Linked DNA regions of Homo sapiens: all the other regions are linked to region 2. Evidence: promoter capture Hi-C in 16 types of primary human blood cells and fetal thymus (Javierre and others, 2016). All regions are on one chromosome and are shown on one strand. The core of a region is centred on a gene start or on the middle of the fragment in contact, and the rest is flanking DNA. Distances in the headings are between cores, read along the strand shown.

Region 1 (3,026 bases), core at 172-2,671, 100 kb before region 2:
AATAAAGATAGGAATATGTCATCTATTCAACTTCTACACTTCACAATGAGGAAAATAAGGTCCTTAGAAGGCAAGAACTTTCAAGGCCACTTACACAAAATGTATAAAGTCTACACTTTACACTTTTTTTGAGAAGGTAATAAGGTCACATGGTGTAATCTTCCTCCAGAAGGTAATCAGTGTTATCAGTTTCTTGCATATCTTTCCAGGGGTATTTTATCCACATTCAAGCAAATATGTATGTTCTTACATTTATGCAGATAGTAGCAACTATCCTATTCTGCACTTTGTAAAACTGTCCATACAGTTGAGACCTGTGCCCATATTCTACAGAAGTCATCTTCAAAGGATGCATATGGACAATTACTAATTATAACAGAGGGCAGAACAGCGCAGTGCTTCAGAGTGCAGGCCCTGGAATCTAAAACCTACTTGCCAACTACTGGTGTAATCTTGAGCAAGTTACTAAACTGCTCTAAGCCTCAATTTCCTCTGCTGTAAACTGAGACTACGAATATAGCAGTCCTCTGCCCCTAGAGGTGGAATAATCCATGCAAACCACTCAGCAACACACCCAGTACATGGTGAGTGCTGCACAAACCATGGCTGAAGTACAAAGTCAAATCTAAAACTCAAGGTTCCTACCTCTTGTTCCAAAGCTTTTCTTTTTTCTTCAAAGTGTATTGAATACAACTTTACAAAAGAGTGTCAACCTAAATAACAAGCATTCTTCAAAGAGTTTATTGAACTGAGTTTATTCTGGAGTGTGCAGGGGATTTGCAAATCCAGCATATGAGGGCTATAGGGACCACAGGCATATCCAAACAGGTTGAAGCCAGGAGAAGCTTTTAAAGGCAAAAGGGAAAAGCATAAGGAATTTGTTTGAAAACAAAGAGAACATTGGATACAGGGGAGACTGTGTCAGTCAAATGTTCTTATGCATCCAGCTAGCTATCCTTGTGACTCACGTAGCAAGCTGCAGTTTGAGCTGCAGTGGCCGCTGCAGGTGGGGAATGTCAATGGGGCTCCATGGATGTAGAGATGCAGGGACTGCTGGCAAAAGTTCTTATTACAGGCATATGTGCAGAAGAGCCCTTCAGAGATGCTTTGTAGCAGTTCTTACGATAGACGTGTGTGAGAGCTCCCTTCTTAACCTCCTGGCTTTATTTATTTTTTGTTAGAATTTAATACAAGTGACTTCATTTTGATTCTGACAACTCTCACAAGGGAAAAGAGCTAGAAACTTCAAATAATTGTCATTCATATCATATTAATTTAACAGACATAAAAATTTTATGTAGTTATCAACATTTACAATTTTTATATTGCCATTTAATTGACATTATTATGTATGCCCAAGTTTATAAACCAAACCTTAAATAATTCTTATTAATGAATATTATTCTATTATATAGATACAACATTCTCTAATAGTTTCCAGAGCAAATAGAGCCCCAGTAAGTGTCTCTGGGCAAAATGTTTTTCTCTCGTAATACTTAATGCCAGACTGTACCGCAAAAGCTCTGCTTATGTTTGCAGTGTCAACATATTATATGACTGAAAACATTTCCTTTAAGACCTATCAATATTACGCTGTAAAATACGTCTTGATTTTTGCTCAACTTAATGACCAGTGGTCTCTGAATAGTTTTAACATTCATCTCTTCATTTGGAAGACTGCGCACTGTATGCACTGATTTTGAATTTGTATTTCTTGTGTTACCTGCCTGATAATATTCTTTTATCTTCTGTCCTGTGGAATCAAGGTTCCGAATGCTTAAAATTTAATCAATTTTTTAATATGTTAAATAAATTTTTCTCAGCATTCCAATTCCATGACCCTGTGTCTCCCTCTCTACCGTCCTTGAGCAGGACTATACATATTGATCAAAGTACATACATATGAATTTGCCAATTGTTAATCTGAATTTTAAGTCCTACAATGAGTTTGGACAAACTATTCCAGGTACCCTAAATTTACTTCAAACAAAGCTTAACATAAAATGATTCTGAAATATATGAATCCTGTGCTTGTATTTTTCTCTAAACCAAATCCAATCTAATTATAATTATTCTTACATGCATACAAAATTGTTTTAATATAACTTTTAAAAATGACTTGTAGTTTTGAAATTTAACTTGGTCTCCCATCTGAATGCCCACTAAGATTTCTCTCATAGAATTAAGTACAAGGTGAGTACTTTCCTATGAAATAATCACAAAAATATTATCCCATGCAAAAGTTGGAATTTAAAACATACCATTTACAATCACAGTAAAAATATAAAATACTTAGGTATACACTTTTTAAAAAAATGTAAAAAACACATACAGTATCTGTATATTAAATTAAAAATTGCTGATGAAAAATACTGAAGGAGACCTCAACAAATGGAGACATCCCTACTATGTTCATGCACTGGACTCAACATAATAAAGGTGTCAATTCTCCCCAAATTAATCTGTAAGTTTATTACGACTCCTAACCAAATATCTCAAGACTTTTTATAAACACAGACAAGTTTATTCTAAAATGTATATGGAAAGACACCAACCTTAAAATATCTAAAACAATTTTGACAAAGAACAAAAGAAGAATCACTTTACCCAATATTAAGGATAACTACTATTAAATAAGCAGGAGGCAGCCGGGCGTGGTGGTTCAGGCCCATAATCCCAGCACTTTGGGAGGCCAAGGTGGGTGGATCATTTGAGGTCAGGAGTTCAACACTAGCCTGGCCAACATGACAAAATCCTATTTCCACTCAAAACACAAAAAATTAGCTGGGTGTGGTAGCGGGCACCTATGATCCCAGCCACTAGGGAGACTGAGACAGGAGAATTGCTTGAACCCAGGAGGCAGAGGTTGCAGTGGGCCGAGATCATGCCACTACACTCCAGCCTAGGTGAGAGGGCAAGACTCTGTCTCAATCAATCAATCAATAAGCAGGAGGCCAGTGGCCTGAGGCTGTCTCCATACTTTCAGTTCCCACTTAATGAACTACAACCTAACTTAAACTGAAAAC
Region 2 (2,761 bases), core at 262-2,761:
CAATTCTACACCTGTAGGGTAATATACTGACAGTGGGGATGGGAAATACATGTAACTCAAATGGTATGTCAACAAATAATATTAATTAAGCAATCATCTCTCTCTCTCTCTCACACACACACACAGACAGCTACCGAGTTTGCAAAAACCGGATTTTGCAGAGCAATGGTCCTATCTATCTCATATTGTCTGAAATTCCTTTCTTTTTTTTTCTTTCTTTCTTTTTCTTTTCTTTTCTTTTTTCTTTTTTTTTTTTTTGAAACGGAGCCTCGCTCTCTCGCCCAGGCTGGAGTGCAGTGGCGCGATCTCGGCTCACTGCAAGCTCCGCCTCCCAGGTTCACGCCATTCTCCTGCCTCAGCCTCCCGAGTAGCTGGGACTACAGGTGCCCACCACCATGCCCGGCTAATTTTTTGTATTTTTAATAGAGACGGCGTTTCACCGTGTTAGCCATGATGGTCTCGATTTCCTGACCTCGTGATACACCCGCCTCGGACTCCCAAAGTGCTGGGATTACAGGCGTCAGCCACTGCGCTCGGCCTATTGTCTGAAATTTCTATCTAGAAATCTTTCCCCATAGTACTTAGAGGATTTTTATAGAGATCTTGAATTTTCTTTCAAAATAATTTTAAAATTAGACCAATTTAAAATCCCATCATGGTCATCTTGGCCTTATGGCTTCAAATAAAACTAAAGCAAGGAATTCAACATAAATACATATTTAGCTGTTGCTATGTTTGAAGCCTTGTGCTAAAGTATGGTACAAAGTTGATTCTGTCAGGGAGAAGCACAAGGAAAGGCACTTTTACAACGGCATGTTGGTCCAGTAAAAGTTCTGCAGCTACTCCTCTCTAATTTAAAAACATATATATATATATTATATATATATATATATATAGCTGCATTAGACACTTAGGTTTTGCAAAAGATGCCTTCATTTCTCATGATGGTATATACATACGTTCTGGATTACTTGTTACTTAAAAATACTGACTTTTGTCCCACGTGTTCCAATTTTAGGTTACATAAATGAGCACACTACTCCGGACCCACATCTCCTGTAATTCAGTGCCTAACTTTCTACCAACAAAGATCCGTGCCTTTCATCCTGAAGTGGGCATAACGGAAAGAGACGCAGAAACCTACGTGGGTTTAAATCCTAGAGGGCTTTGGTGAAAAGTCCCTAATCTCGGTTTTCCACGTCACTCAAATGCAGGGCCACATTAGATAGCCTTTTCAAGGTCCTTCGCATCTGCAGACTTCTGCGATTAAAACGCATCTCTTTTTGGAAGATAATTCACCTGAAGCTCCTCTGGGAAATTAGCTTGCTGAGGGCCAGACCAACAACCGGGTAGGAGCGAATCTGGTTTCTCTTTGAAAAGCCTTCCTAGGGTTAGCATCCAGGGCCAGCAACGGAGCGCGCCCCCGAACCACGTGTCTGCGCCAGCTGCCGGATTGGCTGAGCGCATTTTAGCGCTGCGGTCTAGACGCTCGCGGTCCCGCCCAGTTGCCAGAGGAGCCGGGACACCGAGGGAAGAGGCCGGAGGGAGATCGCGGAGGGGAGGGGGCGGGAGGGGGGTGGGGTATCCTGAGTCGTCCGTGGTCCGGAGTCTGGAAGGCCCTAGAGCGGCGCCAGTCGACCCGCCTCGCCACAACTTGCCCAGACCAGACACGTTTCATCCTGCGCCCTGCAAGAAGGAGCCGGCCTGCCTCTCTCCGCTTTGCTGCTCCTCGGCCTCCGCGGGCCCGGCCCGCGTCAGCAGCGACCCTGGGGTCTGGGTCCCCTGTGTCGCCCCCGCCCGCCTGCAGCGCCCGGCACCCGCCCAGGAGCGCGCAGCTGGGGTGAGCCGAGACCGGGGATGCGCCAGGCGCCCACAGGAGGTGGCTGACGGGGCATCCCGATACCCGCGAAGCCGGCCCTCCTGCCTCTCCAGGCTGCGAGCCGAGCCTCTGCAGATCCAGCTGGAGTAGCCGCCGCTGCCCCCACTGCCTGTTTGCCTTCCAAGGAAGGGCGCCGAGGTTCCCCTGGAACCCGCGTCTCTCGGCTTTTGTCTGCTGGTTCGGCTGCCCGGCGGTGCCATGCGCCTGGGACTTGAGGCGCCGCGCAAGGCTGGGGGCCCTGCCCGGGATGGGGGAGGGAGGGAACGGGAAAGCATGCCCCCTTCTTTCCTGTTCCGGCCATCTTGTGACCGAGATCCACGCAAGGGGAAAGGGGTGGTCAGCGGCACGACGCCCCACGATGGAGTGTGGCGGCCAACGGAGATGGGTACCTCGGGCCCGCAGGCCTCTGCGCCCAGATCTCAGCGGGGGCGCGCGGGCCACCCCCACGTTCAGCTCTGAAGCCCTTGGCCCAGATCATGGGTTAATCGTTCTAACAGGCCAGAGGCAGCAAAAATAGGAGGGATAAAGGGCCAGGAGCTGATGTTTCCTTAACTAAGCGCCTAAGTCATTCGATCGTTCTTCATTCACGTGTCCATTCAGCAAATTCTGAACGCCTTCTCCGTGCCTGTCCTCTGCTAGGTTCTAGGGACGTATACTTGAGCAAGAGAGACCACAGCTCTTGTTCCCGCTGATCCTGCAGCCCAGTGGATGGAGTCCAGAATCTACAGACCTGCCAGGTCGGTGTCTTGATGCTCTTAAACAGATGGAGGAAGCTAAGTCTTAGAGCTGACAATTTGTTCTAGATCAGGGAGCAAGTAAGTGACAGAATCAAACTTTGAAACTATTTATGTCTTTAGCACTTTTTATGCCTGGTTGCAGGGA
Region 3 (3,070 bases), core at 102-2,601, 100 kb after region 2:
CATGTGACATGCAAGCTTCCACTTCATCTTCCGCAATGATTGTGAGTTTCCTGAGGCCTCCCCAGAAGCCAAGTAGATGCCAGCATCATGTTCCTGTACAGCCTGCAAAACCTAGCAATTAAACCTTTTCTCTTTATAAATTACCCAGTCTCAGATATTTATAGCTATGTGAGAATGGACTAACATAGTTGTGAGGTAACAAACATAGAATACATTTTTACATATGAAAAATATAAGGTCAGTTCAGCCTTGGGAGTGTTATTGTTTGTTCTTAATCATTAAACTTGGGTGCAATGTATGGAAATAGCACTGGACTGGCATTTAAATGACCTGCCATCTATTCTAGCTGTCACTACCTTGCTGTTCATTTACATTTGATTGGGCCCATTTTTCCCGTCTAAAAAGTGAGTGTGGAAAAAAAGTGAGTGTGTCAAAACAAGTCTCAAAAGCTCTGCCTAGATCTAGTGATAGAGGAAGTAATAAAAAATGCAATGGGAGAATATTGTCTCCTCCTCCCCTTCAGACAGTGCAAACAAAGGAAAAACAAGAAGGAACAGGGGAAACAGAAAAAAACTAGAAAGAGAGGGAGGCTCAGACGCAGAGTGTGATGGGGTCATTGTACACATATGCAGCTAGCAAGAGAGGGAACCAGGGAGAAATCTCTTTCTCACTACTCCAGAGATTTGCCCTTTAGTTTTCAAAGTTGGCTTAAGTTTTGCCCATACTTGCCCCAGCTGCCCCAGTTTCTCCTAATTATGCTCACTTGCGTATAGTTGCCTCTTAATTAGAAGCAAAGAACAGTAACTTGCAGCCTGGTCATTCTGAATTCCTCCCTGCCTCCAACAAGTGTTAGAAAGGAAAGGCAGACGAGTTCCGTTTATTTTCTGCACAAGGCCTGATTTCCTTTACAACTATTCTCAAGCATCGGTGCCTATGTTTGCTTTCATGGTTGGAATTAAGCATTTGTAGAAGGTCCCTCGGCAGGTTAATGACAGAGCCAGATTTAGCATGCACAGCTGCTGCATTCTCAGTGTGGGCCCTGGGCCACTGGGCCACGTGGCCATTCCACCCAGTGTTCCAAGTCACATACTTGTCAACTGCAAGCCACTTCCTAAGCCAGTAGTTGTGAACAAGCTTTATTAAACATGACACGTCCACAAGAGCAGAACACCCAAACCTCAAAACTTGAAAAATACTACTTATCTCTTCTAGTTCAAGCAAAAAGTGTCACATAGTAGTAAACTGGTATCGTCAGTGTCAGTGGAAAAAAGCAATGTCTCTCCCCAACCCCCAAAAAAACTTCACTCCCTATATCAATTACTCAAGCTATTAAGTTAGACTAACAGGCTTGATCATATTTTACAGGTGACAAAAGTAGCCAACGTTAAGAATTAACATCACTTCTCATTTCCCAGTCCGAGCCACTAACTAGCATGCAATTTTGTTTAGTTATTTGTCTGATATTTTCAAAGAATGCATATATGCCAAGTATTTGTTACCTAATGCATATTAACAACTAAAAAGTGGTCTTTTGTAATTAATGTAAGCAGTTCTTAAAAGTAAGCTTTTTTTTTGAGACAGAGTCTGTCTCTGCTCTGCTGCCCAGGCTGGTGTGCAGTGGTGCTATCTTGGCTCACTGCAACCTCCACCTCCCAGGCTCAAGCGATTCTCTTGCCTCAGCCCCCACCAAGCAGCTGAGATTACAGGCGCATGCCACCATGCCAGGCTAATATTTATTTATTTATTTATTTATTTATTTATTTATTTATTTTTGAGACAGAGTCTCCCTCTGTTGCCCAGGCTGGAGTGCAGTGGCGTGATCTTAGCTCACTGTAACCTCCATCTCCCGGGTCCAAGCGATTCTTCTGCCTCAGCCTCCCAAGTAGCTGGGACTACAGGCATGCACCACCATGCCCGGCTAATTTTTGTATTTTTAGTAGAGACGGGATTTCATCATATTGGCCAGGCTGGTCTTGAACTCCTGACCTCAGGTGATCCACCCACCTCGGCCTCCCAAAGTGCTGGAATTACAGGCGTGAGCCACCGCGCCTGGCCACGTCAGGCTAATTTTTATATTTTTGGCAGAGAAGGGGCTTCACCATGTTGCCCAGGCTGGTCTTGAACTCCTGACTTTAGGTGATCTGCCCACCTCGACCTCCCAAAGTGCTGATATTACAGGCGTGAGCCACCTTGCCCAGCCAAAAGTAAACATGTGTTAAAGGGTCAAGATTATCTTTTGAAAGCTGAATAAAATACTGTACTCTATGGGATGTTGCAAATTTCTATAGAAACAGAATTATAACTATGGGAGCTGAAAATAATGAGTGCCTTCTTCATTCCACAGTTTTTCTAAAAAAAAGGAATATGTAAGTGTTCTCAGGACAATATTCTGGAAAGGTAGAAAATACAGTTTCAATAAGAAATAAAGCCATCTTGTAATTAACTTTTTATTACTAACTTACCTTTGTATATTATTCAAGCCCTTAAATAATGCAACAACTTTCTTCCAGCTGCTCTTTTCTAATTGACTCCTTTAAAATTTTTATTATAAAGTCAGATTCATCTTCTAAGCAAATTAATTCAGAACGTGAATGTTACTCCAATGAATATAGCAAACCTCTTAGTCATGTACCAACTAAAAAATGATCATTTGAGAGAAGGCATATTGAAACAATACTGTATTCCCACATGTCTCAATATAAATACTGAAGGTGAAAACAGATTCACAATCCAATTGTAATGCCAGCATCCTCACTTTTTCTTCTGTGTTGTTTTAAGAGTCCAGTGACTTTGGTTCCTTTGTACCCTCTACTTTTACATTGCTATCCTCAAACATTTGATCTGGTTTCTATTCTTGGAGAGCAATAAAATGTTTTAGAAATGTAACAAAGTTCAGCTGGGCACGGTGGCTCACGCCTGTAATCCCAGCACTTTGGGAGGCCAAGGTGGGTGGATCACCTGAGGTCGGGAGTTCAAGGGCAGCCTGGCCAACATGGTGAAACCCCATCTCTACAAAAATACAAAAATTAGCCAGGTATGATGGCGGGTGCCTGTAAACCCAGCTACTCGG

What was found. The method cuts DNA at HindIII sites, captures the fragments that hold promoters and counts their contacts. A CHiCAGO score of 5 or more calls a contact.
Region 1: a contact is called between a fragment that was not itself captured here and the fragment with the promoter of DZIP1 in region 2, in 1 of 17 cell types (neutrophils). The highest score is 6.7, in neutrophils.
Region 3: a fragment that was not itself captured here is called in contact with the fragment with the promoter of DZIP1 in region 2 in 3 of 17 cell types (monocytes, M0 macrophages and M1 macrophages); the score reaches 6.3 in monocytes.

The regions. Positions count from the first base shown.
Region 1 is chr13:95,743,479-95,746,504 of GRCh38, reverse strand. All of the region lies in intron 4 of DNAJC3 (DnaJ heat shock protein family (Hsp40) member C3), which reads right to left. Among named protein-coding and RNA genes, the nearest start is that of DNAJC3, 68 kb to the right of the region's middle. The HindIII fragment of the contact is 1,147 bases long and covers 848-1,994 here.
Region 2 is chr13:95,643,456-95,646,216 of GRCh38, reverse strand. It overlaps DZIP1 (DAZ interacting zinc finger protein 1), which reads left to right and starts at 1,511. Exons shown (of 23, transcript NM_198968.4): 1 at 1,511-1,840; 2 at 2,519-2,616. RefSeq lists an enhancer at 1,299-1,348 and silencers at 1,439-1,548, 1,639-1,728, 1,789-1,898. The HindIII fragment of the contact is 11,159 bases long and covers 1-2,761 here.
Region 3 is chr13:95,539,003-95,542,072 of GRCh38, reverse strand. It overlaps a transcript of CLDN10 not described here. Among named protein-coding and RNA genes, the nearest start is that of CLDN10-AS1, 6.6 kb to the right of the region's middle. The HindIII fragment of the contact is 430 bases long and covers 1,137-1,566 here.